Regions from separate parts of the Homo sapiens genome. Here regions 1, 2, 3 and 5 are each linked to region 4. Evidence: promoter capture Hi-C in human tissues and cell types (Jung and others, 2019). All regions are on one chromosome and are shown on one strand. Each heading gives the region's core, a stretch centred on a gene start or on the middle of the fragment in contact. The rest is flanking DNA. Distances are from core to core; before and after follow the strand shown.

What was found. Contacts are between HindIII fragments. The study calls those that stand out against the background at their distance.
Region 1: the fragment with the promoter of MRPL28 here is called in contact with the fragment with the promoter of RHOT2 in region 4 in 1 of the 25 tissues and cell types used here (mesendoderm cells).
Region 2: a contact is called between the fragment with the promoter of LUC7L here and the fragment with the promoter of RHOT2 in region 4, in 1 of the 25 tissues and cell types used here (dorsolateral prefrontal cortex).
Region 3: a fragment that was not itself captured here is called in contact with the fragment with the promoter of RHOT2 in region 4 in 4 of the 25 tissues and cell types used here (liver, lymphoblastoid cells, mesendoderm cells and 1 more).
Region 5: a contact is called between the fragment with the promoter of SOX8 here and the fragment with the promoter of RHOT2 in region 4, in 5 of the 25 tissues and cell types used here (IMR-90 fibroblasts, dorsolateral prefrontal cortex, lymphoblastoid cells and 2 more).

What each region holds. Positions count from the first base shown.
Region 1 is chr16:369,088-371,787 of GRCh38, forward strand. MRPL28 (mitochondrial ribosomal protein L28) reads right to left here and starts at 1,451. Exons shown (of 6, transcript NM_006428.5): 1 at 1,412-1,451; 2 at 844-1,138; 3 at 1-133. The coding sequence starts at 1,131. PGAP6 (post-GPI attachment to proteins 6) reads right to left here. Exons shown (of 13, transcript NM_021259.3): 13 at 1,701-2,700. The HindIII fragment of the contact is 14,100 bases long and covers 1-2,700 here.
Region 2 is chr16:226,892-230,773 of GRCh38, forward strand. LUC7L (LUC7 like) reads right to left here and starts at 2,558. Exons shown (of 10, transcript NM_201412.3): 1 at 2,388-2,558; 2 at 351-445. The coding sequence starts at 2,448. RefSeq lists a silencer at 2,172-2,401 and an enhancer at 2,234-2,930. The HindIII fragment of the contact is 19,974 bases long and covers 1-3,882 here.
Region 3 is chr16:933,184-937,022 of GRCh38, forward strand. It overlaps LMF1 (lipase maturation factor 1), which reads right to left. Exons shown (of 11, transcript NM_022773.4): 3 at 1,061-1,071. It overlaps LMF1-AS1 (LMF1 antisense RNA 1), which reads left to right. Exons shown (of 2, transcript NR_110946.1): 2 at 155-1,341. Among named protein-coding and RNA genes, the nearest start is that of LMF1-AS1, 14 kb to the left of the region's middle. The HindIII fragment of the contact is 3,145 bases long and covers 912-3,839 here.
Region 4 is chr16:666,882-669,409 of GRCh38, forward strand. It overlaps RHOT2 (ras homolog family member T2), which reads left to right and starts at 1,251. Exons shown (of 19, transcript NM_138769.3): 1 at 1,251-1,355; 2 at 1,472-1,530; 3 at 1,607-1,688; 4 at 1,775-1,818. The coding sequence starts at 1,319. It overlaps WDR90 (WD repeat domain 90), which reads left to right. Exons shown (of 41, transcript NM_145294.5): 40 at 24-108; 41 at 551-949. The coding sequence ends at 708. RefSeq lists an enhancer at 962-1,643 and silencers at 1,029-1,368, 1,429-1,528, 1,629-1,718. The HindIII fragment of the contact is 52,780 bases long and covers 1-2,528 here.
Region 5 is chr16:980,368-984,594 of GRCh38, forward strand. It overlaps SOX8 (SRY-box transcription factor 8), which reads left to right and starts at 1,403. Exons shown (of 3, transcript NM_014587.5): 1 at 1,403-1,977; 2 at 3,361-3,593. The coding sequence starts at 1,556. It overlaps CEROX1 (cytoplasmic endogenous regulator of oxidative phosphorylation 1), which reads right to left and starts at 1,246. Exons shown (of 3, transcript NR_164343.1): 1 at 1-1,246. It also overlaps a transcript of LMF1 not described here. The HindIII fragment of the contact is 8,118 bases long and covers 1-4,227 here.

The DNA.
Region 1 (2,700 bases), core at 201-2,700, 300 kb before region 4:
GCCCATAAGCCTCATCGATGAGGTCCAGGGTCCGCATGGTCACAGTCACTGTGAACTTCTTGTCCAGGATCTCACTGTAGAACTCTCGCTCAAACAGCTGTGGCTTCCACACTTTCTTCAGCCTCTTGGAGAGCTGAGGGTGCAACAGAGCCTCCATGAGTACTGCTGCTTTCTCTTACATACCAAGGGGGGCCCAGGCAACTGCCCTCACCTCCCCCCCGGAGGCTCCATCACAGAACCACTGCTGTCAGACTGGGGACCTAGAGCTAACTGGGCCGGCCCCCAGCCCAGTGCCGCCCCAGCCCGACCCGGGTCCTGACTGTGTACCCAGAAGTCAGCTGCTCCCCAACAAGCTGGGCGTTCCCGCCCTGGTCACATGGTTGCTGCATGTGTTTCAGAAACATGTGCGACCCCACAGTTTACAGGTTGTCACATTCCAACCTGGAGGTGACACAAGTCTCCCCACAGGCTTCAGCAGTCCCGCCAGGAAGTCCACCACAAGCAGCCTCGAAGCTCTGCTCGCCTCCCCCACCTGCTCTGCTCGCCTCTCCCACCTGCTCTGCTCATCACACAGGCCTCCTCCCCATCCTAACTTTACCCCGACTCCCCACGGCCTCTGGTTGCTCCCCCGGCCTGAGTCACCCCACCTCACCCCTACTTTATCAGTCCTGTTTGCCAGAACTGCGGTTCTTCACTCAGCGTGCTCCTTTGCCGGAGATGTGTCGCCTCCAGGCTGTAATCCCCAGGGCCCACCCAGGTCTCTCCAGGTACCCCGGGCGTCCGGCACAGAGCCGGCACAGCCAAGCCCTGAGAGGAGCCCCTGAAGGCCGCCTGCGGACCCACCTTGTCGTTGTTGGCATATATTTGGCCCAGGATCCAGCCCTCGCCGCCCCACAACCCCCGCTGGGATTCGGGGGGAAAGTAGATGGGAATGGGCACGTCCTCCACACGCTCCCGCTGCCCGTTCTTGGGGTTGATCTTGAACTTGGCCCCATGAGGCCTATAGTGCACGGGAGTGGGCGTCCGCTCCTCCTCCAGGGAGCGCAGGTAGTGGCCGGGCAGGCGGGAACAGATGCCCTCCCGCAGCTGCAGCCGCTTCCAGAGCCACACGGGATACTTGTGTAGAGGCATCGCGAGCCTGGCGGGAGGTGGGGGCTCGCAGTCAGTCGCAGCCTGGCCAGGCCCCCGGCACTCACCCCCTACCCCGGCCCCCGACTCTCACCCGCTACCCCGGCCCCCGGCTCTCACCCGCTACCCCGGCCCCCGGCTCTCACCCGCTACCCCGGCCCCCGGCTCTCACCCGCTACCCCCTACCCCGGCCCCCGGTTCTCACTCCGGCCCCTGTCCCGCACCCACCTGCCCCTCCCCTTCTGCCCCGGCGCCCCCCCACACCCCACCTGCCCGCGCCCACCTTTCAGGGTTCAGAGCCCACCGGAACCGGAAGCCGATCTGCCGCGCCTGGCCCTCCTCCCACCGCTGACTGGCTGTAAAAGCCATCCGTCTACCCCCTCGTCCCGCCCCGCTTCCGTCTTTAGGGACCGTAAAAAACACCCCACATACAGCAGCAGCAGCTCAAGGCACCGTTAGCTACGTGCGGCCCCGGCGTTTCCGCGAAGGGCGGCACGGGCGGGGCGGTGCTTGTTCTCCCGGGCCCCACTTACCCTACCCGGGAAGGAGCACAGAAAAAATGTAAAAACTCGTTTAGTTTGAAAAATCAATGTAGAATATTAAATTCACCAAACACAGATAGATCAGATCTACATAAAAATATGTCTTAATATCTTAGAATTTTCCTTTACTCCAAAAAACCCCATATATATATGTTTCTCCTTTATAAGCTTAGAGATTGCTTTGGTGGTCAAGTGCAGGGCGGCTGGGGGAGGTAAGACCTTCAGGAAGGCCATATCCCGGACAAGACCCAGAAGGGAAGCCCCCAGAGCCAAGGGTAGGAGGGCCCCACCCGGGTCTCAGCCACTCACTTCTCCAGGGCGGATCCGAGACACTCACAGGCCTCAGGGAGGGGCCAGGTGCTGCTCCTGGTCATTGCTTCCCCCACAAGGTTTGCATGAGGAGCAGAGACAGTCCAGTCTCCTGAACACCCACAGGGCACAGAGCCCAGTGCAGGGGGCAGACACCACCGCAGCTCCTGGGACCAAGAGGAAGCTCCCAGAGGGGGGCCCAGGAACGCTGGGGTGGGTGGACAGGGCTGGGTAGGGGTTCCTTCTGGGCCAAACCCCCAGAGCAGCAGAGCACCCCAGTCCAAGGAAGCTCTTCTCAGGGACCCAAGGCTCCAGAGCCAGGAAAAAGGGAGGGGCGGGGCGGGAGCCTGCATCCCCAGTGCCCATCAGCTCTGGGGGAAACCTCCGTCTCCCGTCCCTATGGTGACCACAGCAGCAGAGGGGGATCCTCCATGCCCCAGGCAGGCTGGCATCAGGGCCACACAGGGGCCAGGAGCAGGGGTCTCGGAGTCCACAGCTCCCGGCCCCAGTGGTGGGCTCAGGGCTCCTGGGCGCCATGGGTCTCACCACAGCCTCGCCAGGGAACAGGACCATAGGGAGTCCTTCTCCCCATCTCTAGCCACCCACAGGCCAGCAGAGCACACAGCCCCACCCTCGCACAGGCACCTGTGGTCTCCAAGTAACCAAGCCCAGGCCCCAGGGGCCACTGCAGACAGCAGCTGGGATCTGCAGAGGGATCTCA
Region 2 (3,882 bases), core at 1,308-3,807, 440 kb before region 4:
TCAGGGATTTCTGCCTGTTGAAGAGTGGAGGATTGAGAAAGGAGCAGTGGCTCATGCCTGTAGTACCAGCTGCTCAAGAGGCTGAGGTGGTAGGATTGCTGGAGCCCAGGAGTTCAAGGCTGCAGTGAGCTGTGATCACACCACTGCACTTCAGCCTGGGCAACACAGAGTGACACTCCATCGCATGCATGCATGCAAACATACATACGAGTGGAGGAACACCTGCCATAATTAAGCCACTTAGAGAAAAAGAGACTTAAGTTAAAACAAAATTCAACATAGAAAAACCGTCACTGCCTATACAGCACTCATGTCAGAGTGTTCCATGAGGTCCCCCAAAATGCACCTACCGTCCCAGCCAGGATGTCATGGGGGCAGCAGTCCAGAAGGTGACTCTTGCAGACACGGTCATCTGTAAACTTGACCCTCTGTCTGGTTTCGTCTCCTGAAATTCATTTGTGGTTTTAAATAAGACAATATTATCACATTAACCACCAAAAAATAACTAGTATAACAATTCACCTGGATGATTTGCAGACTATCATTTCTGTGTTCTCCCCATCAAATGCAATGAAAAGCTGATCTAAAGATATTTACAACTGGAGTGGAATACACATTTTTTTGAGGCTAGTTATATCATGGAGAATCACACTTAATGAGATCTGACTCCATCACTGTACCAAAGAAGTCAAGGAGTCAGACGTAAACAGCTGAGCACCAAAAGGCCATTGGCTCCACATATACATGTGGCAATGAGACTGCAAAACCCAAGCTAATCAGAGGTCCATGAACCACCAAGGGTGACTTATAGAGCTGGTAATTTCCACCAACAAAAGCTACTTATTAATCTAATCTTTTTGTTATGAACAAATGCAGAGGCAGTATTTTGCCCAAAATTGAATGAAGAAGAAAGCTTTCAAACTCTATCGAAGACTGTTAAATAATCTAGATCTATTCTTCCTACGTCCCTTTCGTTCCCACCCTTAAAAAAGAGAGTTGCTACCTGGGAGTCACTTTTAACAAGACAATACCAAAAAAAGCAAAAAAGGAACTAGGTTAGTCAATACACACTGTGAGCTCCAACACATACTGTACCCATCTGCATTCTTCAAGACCTCAGCTGCAGAATTTTATGCCCGCTGTTGAAAAGTGTTAAAGGAAAAGTTTTCTTGCCCACACCTGCAGTAAGGAAGTCGGGGGAATGATACATAAAAGTAAAGGTAAAGTGGTATGTGACAAATTTTAAAGCTAGTCTGTGTATACAACACAGAGCTGTGCAACGCTAGAGGAGGAATATATTTTAGGATTTGCAAGCATCCAGGATTAATGTAGTGTCTTTTTATTGAAAATGTTTTCTTTCTAAACTACACTTTTAAAGTTACTTGTGAAAAAAAGCAAACACTTTTTTGTTATAACAGCTTAGAAATTGGTTGTGACTCACGGCTCGATGAACATGAGGCTTTCTGCAACTCCCTTGCAGATTGATGTAGGCAGGCAAAGATACACTGAACCTTTATAAATAAAATAGAGGGGCCACAATTGTTCAGTTTGTATGAAATAAAAATATGGGAAGCAATTCAAAAGCAACTCAATATACAAAGAAAGCTAAAAAGCACTTATTCACCTATGAAATAAAGTGCAAATAATCTGCACAGCCCTGAGAATGTGCCAGTGTGAACTTACAACTTCATTACTCAGCAGAAAAGAAAACACAAACCACAGCAGGTATATAGTTTTGCAAAGATGCAACCGCTTTCTCCTGTGACAACCATCATGATCTTGAGCTCCTCCCTACACAGTACAACCTACCTAACGACTGTCAAGCGCTGGCTACACAGAGGCTCTCCTGTGTGCTGGGGGGAAGGGGGCAGCTGGAAAAGTACTTGGCAGAAACCCACGTTAGAAAAGCTCAGTTTACGGTTCCCCTTGCAATGGTACAGAACCAGAGCGGGCCAGGTTTTCGAGGCCCATCCGGCTCCCTCGGGTGTAGCTTCTTCCCAAGGAGCCTCGGAAGAGTTCTGCCACCCGGCTGCCAGCGACCTGGAGCCCACGCTGATTCCAGCCCTCCGCCGACTCCACAGTTCGCGGAGGGGCACGGAGCCGCGGCGCCCGCCGGGGAGGAAGTAGCAGGACGGTACATAGGAAGGAGGCTGAAGCCCCATCCATGGCGCAGACTCCGAGAGAGGAGCCCGACCTGGACCCACGGCCGCCTCAGAGACGCACCGGCTTAGACAAAGGCCCGGCGCCTGCGGTCGGAGCGCGGGGGAGGAGGAGCGATGCCCCGCGCAGGCGCAGGCGCAGACGATCGCGGCCCCCGCCTCAGGCCGCCCGGCGGCCTCGCCTCACTCCCACCCCAGACCCTCGCCTGGTTGGCCGCTCTGACTCACCGTCCCGAGCCGTGCCCATGAGCTGGTCCAGCAGGGCCCGCATCTGCGCCTGGGCGGACATGGTAGCCGGCGGAGGCGACGGGGTCGGCCGCGACGACTTCTCTCAGGCAGGCGGTGGCAGCGGCGTCGACAAACGATGGTCGCGTCGGCCTCGAGCCCACTCGGCTCTTTCCCGCCGCGGGGGACGCCGGGAGGAAGTACGACGGCGCCGGCGCACGCCCTGCTGGGAAATGTAGTTTCTGGGGTGGGTGCTTAGGGAGGCTGAGGCTCTGAGTGGTCGCAAGTTGTCCAACGGCGGAACCAAAATCCCAACCCTGATTTTACTCTAGACCCCCAGGACCTCAAACGAGTCTCTACGGAGGGTAAACTACAATAAAATGAAATACAGTCAATCAAAAACAAGATGAATCCGTGCTTTTTCTAAGCTAGCCATGAAACCGTGAGCATATTATTTAGCTCCCCGACGCTCGTTTTTTTAAATCTGTGAAATGAGGGTTCTAAAGGTGCCCCTCATATGATTTTTGTGAAAGTTAAATAAAGCATGGAATTTTATTTATTTATTTATTTATTTATTTAGAGCGAGGGTCTTGCTCCGTCGCCCAGGCTGGAATGCAGTGGCGCGATTACCGCTCACTGCAGCCTCGACCTCCCCGGCTCCTTATCCTCCCGCCTCAGCCCGGCAAAGTATTGGGATTACTGGTGTGAACCACCACGTTTGGCCATCAGTCATGGCATTAATATTAGGTTCTATGATTACAACCTCGTGGTCGTCCTTTTGTGAGCTCATGGTCTACTGTCCCAGGGACTAAAGAAAAGGCATATGTAAGCAGTTATTTTATGTGATAATAGAATTATAGCATGCACTTATGTGTGCATAGTCTGGCATATACTTCTATTATATTAAACCTCTATTATTTATTTATTTATTTTTGAGACGGAGTTTCGCCCAGGCTAGAGTGCAATGGCGCGATCTTGGCTCTCCGCAACCTCCGCCTCCTGGGTTCAAGCGATTCTCCTGCCTCAACCTCCCAAAGTGCTGGGATTACAGGCATGAGCCACCACGCCCGGTCTTTATTTTTTATTTGTTTATTTTTTTTTTGAGACGGAGTCTTGCTCTGTCACCCAGGCTGGAATGCTGTGGCGCGATCTCGGCTCACTGTAAGCTCCGCCTCCCGGGTTGAAGCGATTCTCCTGCCTCAGTCTCCCCAGTAGCTGGAATTTCAGGCGCCCGCCACCCCCTCCGGCTAATTTTTGAATGTTAAGTAGAGACGGGGTTTCACCATGCTGGCCAGGCTGGTCTCAAAGTCTTGACCTCAAGTAGCCAGCCACCATGCCCAGCTGATTTTTGTATTTTCGGTAGACACGGTGTTGTACCGTATTGGCCAGGCTGGTCTTGAACTTCTGACCTTGTGATCTGCCTGCCTCGGCCTCCCAAAGTGCTGAGATTACAGGCGTGAGCCACCGCGCCCTGCCGTATTTTATTTATTTTTGAGAC
Region 3 (3,839 bases), core at 1,234-3,733, 270 kb after region 4:
GCCAGGAAACCCATGAGTGACAGTGGCCAAGGTGGCCTGGTCGTCTGCAATTACAGGAACCTGCCTTTCAAGGTGATTAAAATCAGGAATAAGGTTCCTTTGTATTTACGTTTTAACAGATTCTGATGTTCTTCCTTTCTTTGATTCGATCCAGATTTCCAGCATCACTGGTACTCAATATTGAAGGAATGAAAATACGTGAGGAATAAAAGAATGAAGAAAGTGACCTCTACCGCAAGGACACAGGCCCTGAAGGCTGAGACTGTGAAGGGGGCAGGCAAAGATCCACGCCCAGACAGGCCACCCCTGCTCTCCTGGGAAAGGGGCCGAGAGCCAGAGAGTTCGGGGCAGAGAGAGCCTGAGTGCGAGGCCCAGGCCAGGGCCTTTACCAGCAAAGACCGGCCCCTCTGCCTGCGCCCTGAGGTCATGGAGAAAGGCAGGGGTGGGGGTATGGTCATCCTTCCCAAGGTCCTGGAGTCAGGTCTGCTTACCAAGCCACCGTGTGTCCCATGACATTCTGGAGGCCTCCGGGCCCAATGGAGGTCACATCCACCGTCCTCCCGGCCCTGTCCTGTCCACTGGGTGGCTGCCCTCTTCCCACCCTCCAGTATTGACTGCGTTGTGTGGGATGGGGAAGACCTCCGGTCCCCTCCACCAAACAAAGCACAAGCCAAAGTGCCCACCAGCGTGAGTGCCGTGAGCACCGTGAACCTTCTCTATGCCGAGGGGCACACAGCCTTGAGCGTCCACGGGGGATGGGCCTGTGGGTGCTTTCCCTCTGCCCCAGGGAAGCGGTGGTAATCACACCTGTGAGATGCCGACAATCATGCGTGCGACCATCCGTCTCTAGGTGCCCGGGGCCTGGAAGCCCAGGAGCTCCCACATCCAGGGAGGAGGCACGGATCAGATCACAAGCGCCCATCACTGCCCTCCGTGCATACTGGGAAGGCTGATGGCAGAGGCTAAGGAAGGGGAGAGGCCAGGAAAAGTGCGTGAAGATACATACCAAACACACAACGCTCAACTCTCGCAGAGCTTTCTCTAAATGCATCTCACTTACCGAAAGAGTACCTGAAAAACAAAAGAAGAAACGAGTATTAACACTTTGGCTTGTTTCAACCAAAAACCCACTGTTTCCCCACTGAGTGAAGCCCACCCTGGCACCCAGCACGGTGTGGGGTCAGGGAAGCCCTGCGAGGAGGACCTGCCCGCTGGGCATTAGGGGAACAGGAGCCCCTCCCCACGGCTCACACACAGGCAGGCCCAGAACAGGCAACCAAAACATATTCCAAGATACACCTACTAAGTACCCATAGAAATAAAAAAATATGTATTTTGCGAATGAGTGAATTAATACTTATTTTTTTGCAGCATCAATTAAATGCCACGGCAAATGTCATACTCTGGAATCTGAAAATTTAAGGACATCACATGACCTCGAGCGCAGCTCATTAGAAAAGGGATCTTAAATGAAAGGAATTGGTGGGAAAGGCTGGGCAAGGCCTGTGTCTTTACTATTGAATCCCAACCAAAAGGGGTTTCAGTGATGCTGTGACCCGCTTCTTACCCTCAGACAGCAGAGGCGTGGGCAAGCAGCACGGGTGTCTAGAGGAGGCAGAGCCGCGGGAAAGCAACACCAATGCATCCCACACCTGCCTCAGCCTCTGACCTCTCTAACCCCACCCCACCTCACAGCAAGACCTACCCTTGGGCTCTAGAAGAAACCCCCTCTGCCACCTATGGTCCCGCAAGAGGCGGGCAGGATGCACCAATGCCCGCATGAGGAGCCCTGCCTCAGGTGCTCAGTGCCACACCTGACGTAGAAGGCACAGCATGTGGTTTGTGGACACGAAATGTACGGAACAGGCCGGTCCACAGACACAGGAGGTAGATTGCCAGGTTTATCCTGGGGTTGATCAGAATTTTTTTTTTTTTTTGAGACACGGTCTCATTCTATCACCCAGGTTGGAGTGCAGCGGTGCATAACCTCACTACAACCTCAAGCTCCTGGGCTGAAGCAGTCCTCCCGCCTCAGCCTCCTGAGTTGCTGGGACCACAGGTGTACACCATGATGCCCCACTAATTTTTGTATTTTCTATAGAGGTTTTGCCATGTTGCCCTGGCTGGTCTCAAACTCCTAGACTCAGGCGATCCTCCTGCCTCCACCTCCCTAAGTGCTGGGATGACAGGTGTGAACTGCCCCAGCCAGAATGTTTTCAACGTGGTGCTGATGGCTTCAGAGTCCATGAATATGTACGCTGACTTGTACACTTTATGTCAGGGTTGTCGGTTGTCCAATCTTGTGGCTTCCGTGGGCCACAATGGAAGAAGAAAAATTGTCTTGGGCCACACATAAAATATACTAACACTAGTGACAGCTGATGAGCTAAAAAAAAAAAAACTCATAATGTTTTAAGAAAGTTTATGAATTTGTGTTGGGTCTCATTCAAAGCCATCCTGAGCCGCGTGTGGACAAGCTTGCTTTAAATGCAGTTTTATGGTATGTGAATTCTATCTCACTAAAGACATTAAGGAGCAACGTTGCCTAATGAAATCCACAGGAATGAAAAGCTACAGGGTGTGGGACGGCCCTCAGGGCCCACTGCCCATCCCAGGGCTCCCTACATCGTCCGACCTTTGAATATGTCTGTGATTTTCCACCTTGACATTACGATAAAAGCACAGCAAAGGCCATGACAAACGACATCTGAGCCGTGGGGGAGGTGGGCGGGGACAGAGTACTGGAGGGCTCATTCTTCAACCGCATCAGGTGTGTGGCTGCCCCAGTGGCTCTGATATCTTTTTAAATCATCCCTTACCCGGTAGAGGTCCACACTATTTATAGGTAAAAGAGTACGAAGTCTAGATTTGCTTTTCACTCCAGAGGAAGAAGGCTGGGAGGGAGAGAGGGCACCCCGTTGGCTGAGGAAGGAGGCTGGGAGGGAGAGAGGGCACCCCGTGGGCTGAGGAAGGTGGCTGGGAGACAGAGGGGGCACCGTGTGGGCTGAGGAAGGAGGCTGGGAGAGAGGGGGTACCCCGTGGGCTGAGGAAGGAGGCTGGGAGGGAGAGAGGGCACCCCGTGGGCTGAGGAAGGAGGCTGGGAGGGAGAGAGGGCACCCCGTGGGCTGAGGAAGGTGGCTGGGAGAGAGAGGGGGCACCGTGTGGGCTGAGGAAGGAGGCTAGGAGAGAGGGGGTACCCCGTGGGCTGAGGAAGCAGGCTGGGAGGGAGAGAGGGCACCCCGTGGGCTGAGGAAGGAGGCTGGGAGGGAGGGAGGGCACCCCGTGGGCTGAGGAAGGTGGCTGGGAGAGAGAGGAGGCACCCTGTGGGCTCAGGAAGGAGGCTGGGAGAGAGGGGGTACCCCGTGGGCTGAGGAAGCTGGCTGGGAGGGAGAGAGGGCACCCCGTGGGCTGAGGAAGGAGGCTGGGAGGGAGAGAGGGCACTCTGTGGGCTGCAGGATACACTCCCTGCCCCCCTTTCCGTGACCAAAATCTTCCAAGCAACCGCTGTACACATTGGCTAATGCTAGAAATAAATTTACCCCCAAAATGTTCCCAATATATAACCTTAGTTGAACGGAGAAAGGAAAAGGAGCTGATTTTTCAAATCCATAGAGAATAAAAGCTTTGCTCTTTTATTAGCCAGGTGTGGTGGCGCACACCTGTAGTCCCAGTGACCTTGGGGCCGAGGCTGGAAGATGGCTTAAGCCCAGGAGTTCCAGGCTGCAGTGAGCCAAGATCGCGCTACTATTGCACTCCAGCCTGGGCGACAGGGCGGGAGATCCTAGCTAAAAAGACGCAGCCTCACGCTTTTATCAGAAGGGACCAAGGCCTGGAAGAGT
Region 4 (2,528 bases), core at 1-2,500:
AGCCTCACGCTGGCTGCTCACAGGTGGTGGAGAAGATACCACTGCCCTTTTTTGCCATGTCCCTGAGCCTGTCCCCCGGGACCCACCTCCTGGCTGTTGGCTTTGCTGGTGAGTGCTGGTGGATGCAGTTTGGGCCTGTCTTAGGTGGGGGCCAAGTGGGCTGACTGGTGCCCTGTTCCAAGACAGGTGCCTCACCTGTGCCCCGGGCTCCTCGTCTCTGGGGTGGGGTGAGGACATCTGCCCTAGAGAGGGTCCTGGAGTCAGGAGATGATGAGGCAGGTGAGGAACCAGGCACAGCGCCCAGCACAGGGCCTGAATGCACGGGTGGCAGCGACTTTTAAGGAGGGAACTGGCCCAGCTGCAGGCCGACAGCCTGGCAGTGATGGACCCCCTAGTCCCAGTGGCACGTGGAGGGCACAGCCAGGAGCCCTTTTAGCACCAGCTCCCCCGACCAGCATCATGCCCAGTGGGGACAGTCTGGGTGGGTTGGGGGAGCCCTCTGAGTGCTGCCTGGTCCTGGCCCTGGCCCACCTGCACCGTCTACCCACAGAGTGCATGCTGAGGCTGGTAGACTGTGCCATGGGGACTGCCCAAGACTTTGCCGGCCACGACAACGCAGTGCACCTGTGCAGGTTTACACCGTCCGCCAGGCTGCTCTTCACGGCCGCCCGCAACGAGATCCTTGTGTGGGAGGTCCCCGGCCTCTGAGATGCAGCAGGGACTGTGGTGGTGGGCATCACGCCTGGTCATGCCAGGCACCTGGACACAGGCTTGGCAGAGGCGCCAGGTTGTCAATGGCCTCATGCTGGGACAGGCCAGGATTCACGTAAATCGCCTGGAGCAAGCTGTTGTAAATTTGGCGCCCTGTGAATACTTTCATACCTGTTGCCCTTTTGCCTAAGAAATCTTTAATGTTTCTATCTTGTAATAAACATGGGCATTTATTGCATTATTGCTGCATTGTTGCACTGGCTGTCTCTGGTCACTCCTGGCCTGAGCTCAGCCTCTGCCCGTCCCTTAATCGGCTGTTTGTCAAGGCCCCTGTGGTGCCGTGAAGCAATGGCCGCTCGGCCTGCCAGGGCGCCAGGACCCTGCGCTGTCCGCCGTGGCCGGCGCGTCCACACGGTGGCGCGCCGCACAGCCTGTCCGCTCTGGCCCGCCCGGCTCGCTGGTGCGGCTGTGCGGGCGGGGCCGGAAGTGTGGGGACAGCGCGGGGCCGAGAACCGGAAGTGCGGGGCGGGCGCGGGGGCAGAGCGAAAGGCTTGAGGACCAGGTCGGGGCCGGGTTCCGGGTCGGGGAGCGGCTCCGGGCGGCAGCTATGAGGCGGGACGTGCGCATCCTGTTACTGGGCGAGGGTAGGCGCCGGCCCGGGGGTCTCGGAGCTGCGGCGGCCGTGAGGCGGGGTGAGGGTCTCGGGGGTCGGGGGGCGCCGTGACCTTGGCCCTCGCGCTGACCGCCTCGCCCCGCGCAGCCCAGGTGGGGAAGACGTCGCTGATCCTGTCCCTGGTGGGCGAGGAGTTCCCCGAGGAGGTAAGGGGCACGCCCGCCGCGGGGGTGGGAGCGGGCCCAGCCGGGGGTCCCTGGTGAGCGCGCGGGTCCCTTGCAGGTCCCTCCCCGCGCGGAGGAGATCACCATCCCCGCGGACGTCACCCCGGAGAAGGTGCCCACCCACATCGTGGACTACTCAGGTAGCGGCCGTAGCCTCCCGGGGGCCCGGCCCGCAGCGGTCCGGCGGGCCTGCTGGGTCCGCAGTGGAGTCTCTTTGTCCCCCTAGAAGCCGAGCAGACGGACGAGGAGCTGCGGGAGGAGATCCACAAGGTACCCGTGGTGCGCGGGACGAGGGAGGGGCTGGGCGCGGGCTCGGCCTAATCCGCTTCGCAGCCTGGGGGATTGGACCGAGGTGCTCCGGGTGTCCTTGGCCCTGATAATTCTGTGACCTCCGCACTGAGGGTTGTCGGGGCCCCTACAGCGCACCCCGCTGGGAGCCGGCACCGCTCAGTCCAGTGGTGCTCCAGGGATAACAGGACCCTTCCCCGCGGGCTCTCCCTCCCTCCTGCCGGGGTGGCAGCAGCGTTTGCTCTTCCTGTGGGCTCTGTGTGCGCCACGTCCCCGTGCTGTGTGCTCCAGCCCACCGTCCCGGCCTCCGGGCACCCGGAGCTCCCAGTACCAGAGCACGTGTGCCGGGGACATCTCCAGGCAAGGGCACAGGCCACAGCCACCCAGGGCAGCCCCTGCTGTTGGCACCCCTCACTGCGGTCCTGTCACTCTGTCTGTAGCGAGGGGGGAGGCAGGGGCCAAGGCGGCGGCTGTCTTGCAGGGTGTTGGGTTGCAGGTGTGGCCGTGTCTGTCCTGAGCCCTCTGCTCCAAGGGTCTTGCTGACCACAGTTATGCTTCTGGGGCCTGGTGTCCCTGCACTGGCAGTGGGCGGGGAAGAGGCTTCTCTGAGGGTTCAGCAGCAGCTCCCAGTGTGACACTGGGGAGTGCCTGCTCTGCCAACACCAGGCTGGAGGCAGGTTTTAGGGAAGGCT
Region 5 (4,227 bases), core at 153-2,652, 310 kb after region 4:
GGCCCCAGGTGGGTGCGGTGCGCTGGCAGGAAGCGGCAGCACGACCCCCGACTTTGCATCTGGACTTTTCTAGTAACGGACCAGCTCCTTCTGCCGACCGGGCCGGGGAGACCGCGTGGCTCAGTGGCTGCAGCGGCCACCGGCCCGGGCGTGGGGGCTTTGAGGGCACCGGCGCGGTAGGTCACCCGGGTTTCGCGGGCCGCAAGCTCGGAGACGCGCGTGTCCCGCGTTGGCTGCCTGACCCGGAATGGCGCAGCCCCTTCGCCTCCAGCGCGCTGGTTGAAAGGATCCGAGCCACCCTCGGGGACGGCCGGGCCGAGGCCACCTCGCGGGGCGGCCTTGGGCGGGGACCCGGACCCGCGGTTGGACGTTCGCCTCGGGGGGGGCAATGTCCCCTCTCCGACCCCGCGGTCCCCACCAGGGCGGCACACCCCGCCCTCTCCCCGCCTCCGCAGGCGCCCAGGGCTCACAGGCTCGGAGCGGCCTCCGCCTCTGCCGGACCACCCAGGGCCGCCCCGCCGGAGGGGCCTCCCCGCCCCCGAGCCCTAGGTCACGCCCGGAAGGCCCGGGGCCCCCGCGTCCGGCCACGCCATCCGCCCGGCGGCCCCAGGGACTCAGCGCCGGGGTCAGCGCAGGCCCCGCCCAGCGCTCCCGCCCCCTCCAGCTGGCCGGCCCCCGGGACCGCGCCCCCGCCCGCGCTCTCCACGCTCGCACTCGTATGGGCAGGGCGGCCCGGGGTCCCCCAGCTCCGAGCCGCGGCCCCTTGAAGCGCGTTACCTGGACGTGCGCTGTCCGCAGACTCTGGACGAGCTGGGCCTGGGCGCTGCGCGGCGGAACCGACCCTGTCCTGGACCGCAGGCAGCAGCTGACCCCGCGCCACCGGCCTGCGGGCGAGACCTCAGGCGCGAGACGGGCTGTGTGTGTGTGTGTGTGTGTGAGAGAGAGAGAGAGAGAGAGAGAGAGAGAGAGAGAGAGAGAGAGTGTGTGTGTGTGTGTGTGTGTGTGTGTGTGTGTGTGTGTGTGTCGGGGGAGGGGCCCGAGGACCCGCTTCCTAGCTGAGCGTCAGGACGGGGGGCGGACTCTCAGGAGCCGCGCGGCGCCCGCAGAGGAGAGGAAGCGCCGGAGACCCCCCTGCTCCCACCCGGCCTCCCTGCCCCGCTTCCTTTCCCGGGGCTCCAGAGAGGGGAGCTCCAGGCGTGGGGCGCCTGGCCCACGTGGTGCGGCGCCGGGCGGGGCAGGCGGGGGCGCGGCGAGAGCCGCGGAGCTTTCTTTATGGGTGGGGGGGCGGGGGCGGCCGGGCTCCGCCTCCGGGGGATCGGGGCGCGCTCCGCCAATGGGTAGCCGGGCGCGGGGCGGGGCCGCGGGGCCGCCGCTTAAAGAAACTTGTTGCGGGTCCCGCAGCGGGACCCGAGCCTCGGCGGCGGCGGCGGCGGCGGCAGGGGCGAGGGTCGGGGCCACCGCGCGGCGACCTCGGGTCCCGGAGCGACCGCAGGGCAGCCCCGGGCGCCGGCCCCGGTGCGCGTCTCCTGTGCGCGCCCCTCCGCGCGCGGCCCCGATGCTGGACATGAGCGAGGCCCGCTCCCAGCCGCCCTGCAGCCCGTCCGGCACCGCCAGCTCCATGTCGCACGTGGAGGACTCGGACTCGGACGCGCCGCCGTCTCCCGCCGGCTCCGAGGGCCTGGGCCGCGCGGGGGTCGCGGTGGGGGGCGCCCGGGGCGACCCGGCGGAGGCGGCGGACGAGCGCTTCCCGGCCTGCATCCGCGACGCCGTGTCGCAGGTGCTCAAGGGCTACGACTGGAGTCTGGTGCCCATGCCGGTGCGCGGCGGCGGCGGCGGCGCGCTCAAAGCCAAGCCGCATGTGAAGCGGCCCATGAACGCATTCATGGTGTGGGCGCAGGCGGCGCGCCGCAAGCTGGCCGACCAGTACCCGCACCTGCACAACGCCGAGCTCAGCAAGACGCTGGGCAAGCTGTGGCGGTGAGTGCCGGCGCCCCGGGGGCGGGGTTCGGGACCTTGGCCGCCCCTGGTCTCGGACTGCGAGCGGGGGCCTGGAGGGCGCAGAGCTCGCGGAGGTGGTGGCCACACGCAGGCTCCGGGCTCTGCACCCCGGGCGGGTGTCAGGGCGGGTCCCAGTGGAAAAACATCCTCTGGCCAGCCGGGGTCCGGCGCCAGCTATGGGAGTCGGGATCCGCGGAGGGCAGCGCCTGGGGTGTGCACCCTCGTGGCGGGTGCGCTCTGGAGCCAGTTCTCCTGGCGGGGAACACCCTGCGGAGGGCCATGGCTGGCACCCCGACGTGCCCTCCAGCCGTTGCGAGTGGCCCCAGCCCCGGGAGGCACGCCCGGCACGACAGCAAGTTGCATGCGGCTCTCTGGAGGTGCTCCCTCCTTAGAAAGGGCTCAGCTCCTCTAGCTCCTGGACCACCCATGGGGAGGGAGTGCGGCAGGCGGATGGGTGGGCAGCAGGTTTGCCTGCGAGTACCCTCCCCGCAGTTTCTCCCTCTCCTGGACACCCTCGGTCCGAAGCAGGGAGGGCAGGAGTGGAGATGACGGGGTGCGCCGTGTGCACGCCTTGGCGTGGTGGGGCCGGTCAGTTTTCCAGAAATTAGGACTGCAGAGTGAAGAACTTGTTGCTCAGGACAGGCCGCCCCCACCGAGTGTCCTCTGGTTGGGTTTCAAATGGTTCTCTTGGTTTGGGGCTCTGGTTCCCGTATCCTGCTCCTCACCTGGAAGAAGGGAGCTTGGAGCTTGCGTATTTGCACCTCCTGCCTTCTGTCTGGATCTAGGGCGCAGCCACGGGGCGCTGTGGACGGCAGGCCCCTGCTCCCCCAAGTCCTGCCGCACAGGCGGTTGGAGGTGAGCCTCGGGAAGAGTCCCAAGGAGTGTGTCCTGTGGCTCAGTGAGGACGGGCGCCTGGGCCCTGCCAGGGCTTCTGGGTGTCTGGGAATGGAGGGACAGCAGCCCAGCTGCCCGCCGAAGGCCGGCACCGTTCCCGGGAAGCCTCGCTTTTGTCCACCGCCGGCTGGGTCCTGCCCGCCTCCCCCGCCTCCCTTAGAAAGCCCCAGAGGGAGGGAACAGCAGGCCCGGAATAGGGGGAAATAGAAGGAGGAAGATGGGAGGCGTGGGGCTTGTTCTTCTTTGGCTGTCGTAAGCATACCAACCTTCCCAAACAGGCGCCGGCCGGTTCTCCCAGAGGAGTGTACTGCCTGGTGCCACGGGAGGCTCCGGAGCGCACGGCAGGCGGGTTTCCCTGGTCAGAGCCTCCTGGCCCCGGCCTCTGCTGCCGGTTCCCCCTGTGGTGTGTGCCTGCGCCGAGGGCACAGTGGGCGCCCTGGCCATCCCTGCCTCTGCCCTGTGCTGCAGCTTGCTGAGCGAGAGCGAGAAGCGGCCCTTCGTGGAGGAGGCAGAGCGCCTTCGCGTGCAGCACAAGAAGGACCACCCCGACTACAAGTACCAGCCACGGCGCAGGAAGAGCGCCAAAGCCGGCCACAGCGACTCCGACTCGGGCGCGGAGCTGGGACCCCACCCTGGCGGCGGTGCCGTGTACAAGGCTGAAGCAGGGCTTGGAGATGGGCACCACCATGGCGACCACACAGGTGGGCTCCAGGCCCCCCGCATATCTGAGGGTCCCTGTATGGGAGGCAGCTGTGGGGTTTCTGGCTGAGAAGGGTGCATGATGGTGGAGGGGGGCAGGCGCCCTCGAGAGAACCGGGCCTTCCCCGGGTTCCCTGAAAAAGCTCCCAAGGCCCCGGCCGCCCCTGTTTTTGGTGCACGAGGGACCTGCTTAGCCACCTTGAGTGCTGAGGGGCTGACAGCTTTGCTTGGCAGGGACCCCGAGAGGTGGTGTTTTCAGCAAGACTCAGTCCAATGCGGGCTCCTCTTCCCACACCGAGCTGCTGCCCACACGGCACTCAGCAGCCCCAGCTTCAGGGCCAGACTGACAGGGTGGAGTCCTGCCGGGGCCTCGGTCAGGCTGGCTGACGCCCGCCAGCCTCAGAGTGCTTGGCTGGCCCGGGGAGGAACAGGGTCTGTGTGGTCCCCCAGCGCCCTGTAAACCCCAGCTCTGGCCAGGCTGGGCCTGTCGGCTTCTTCCCCCCACCTTGGTCTCTGGGAGGGGCCTCGGGTCTTCTCATAGCACAGCGCTTCATGGAATTTTCTCGGCCGAGGAGTGAGGTCTAGGTCTGACTTTGCTGGAATTTCTGGGAAATGTAAAGAAACAAAAAGCCGTTG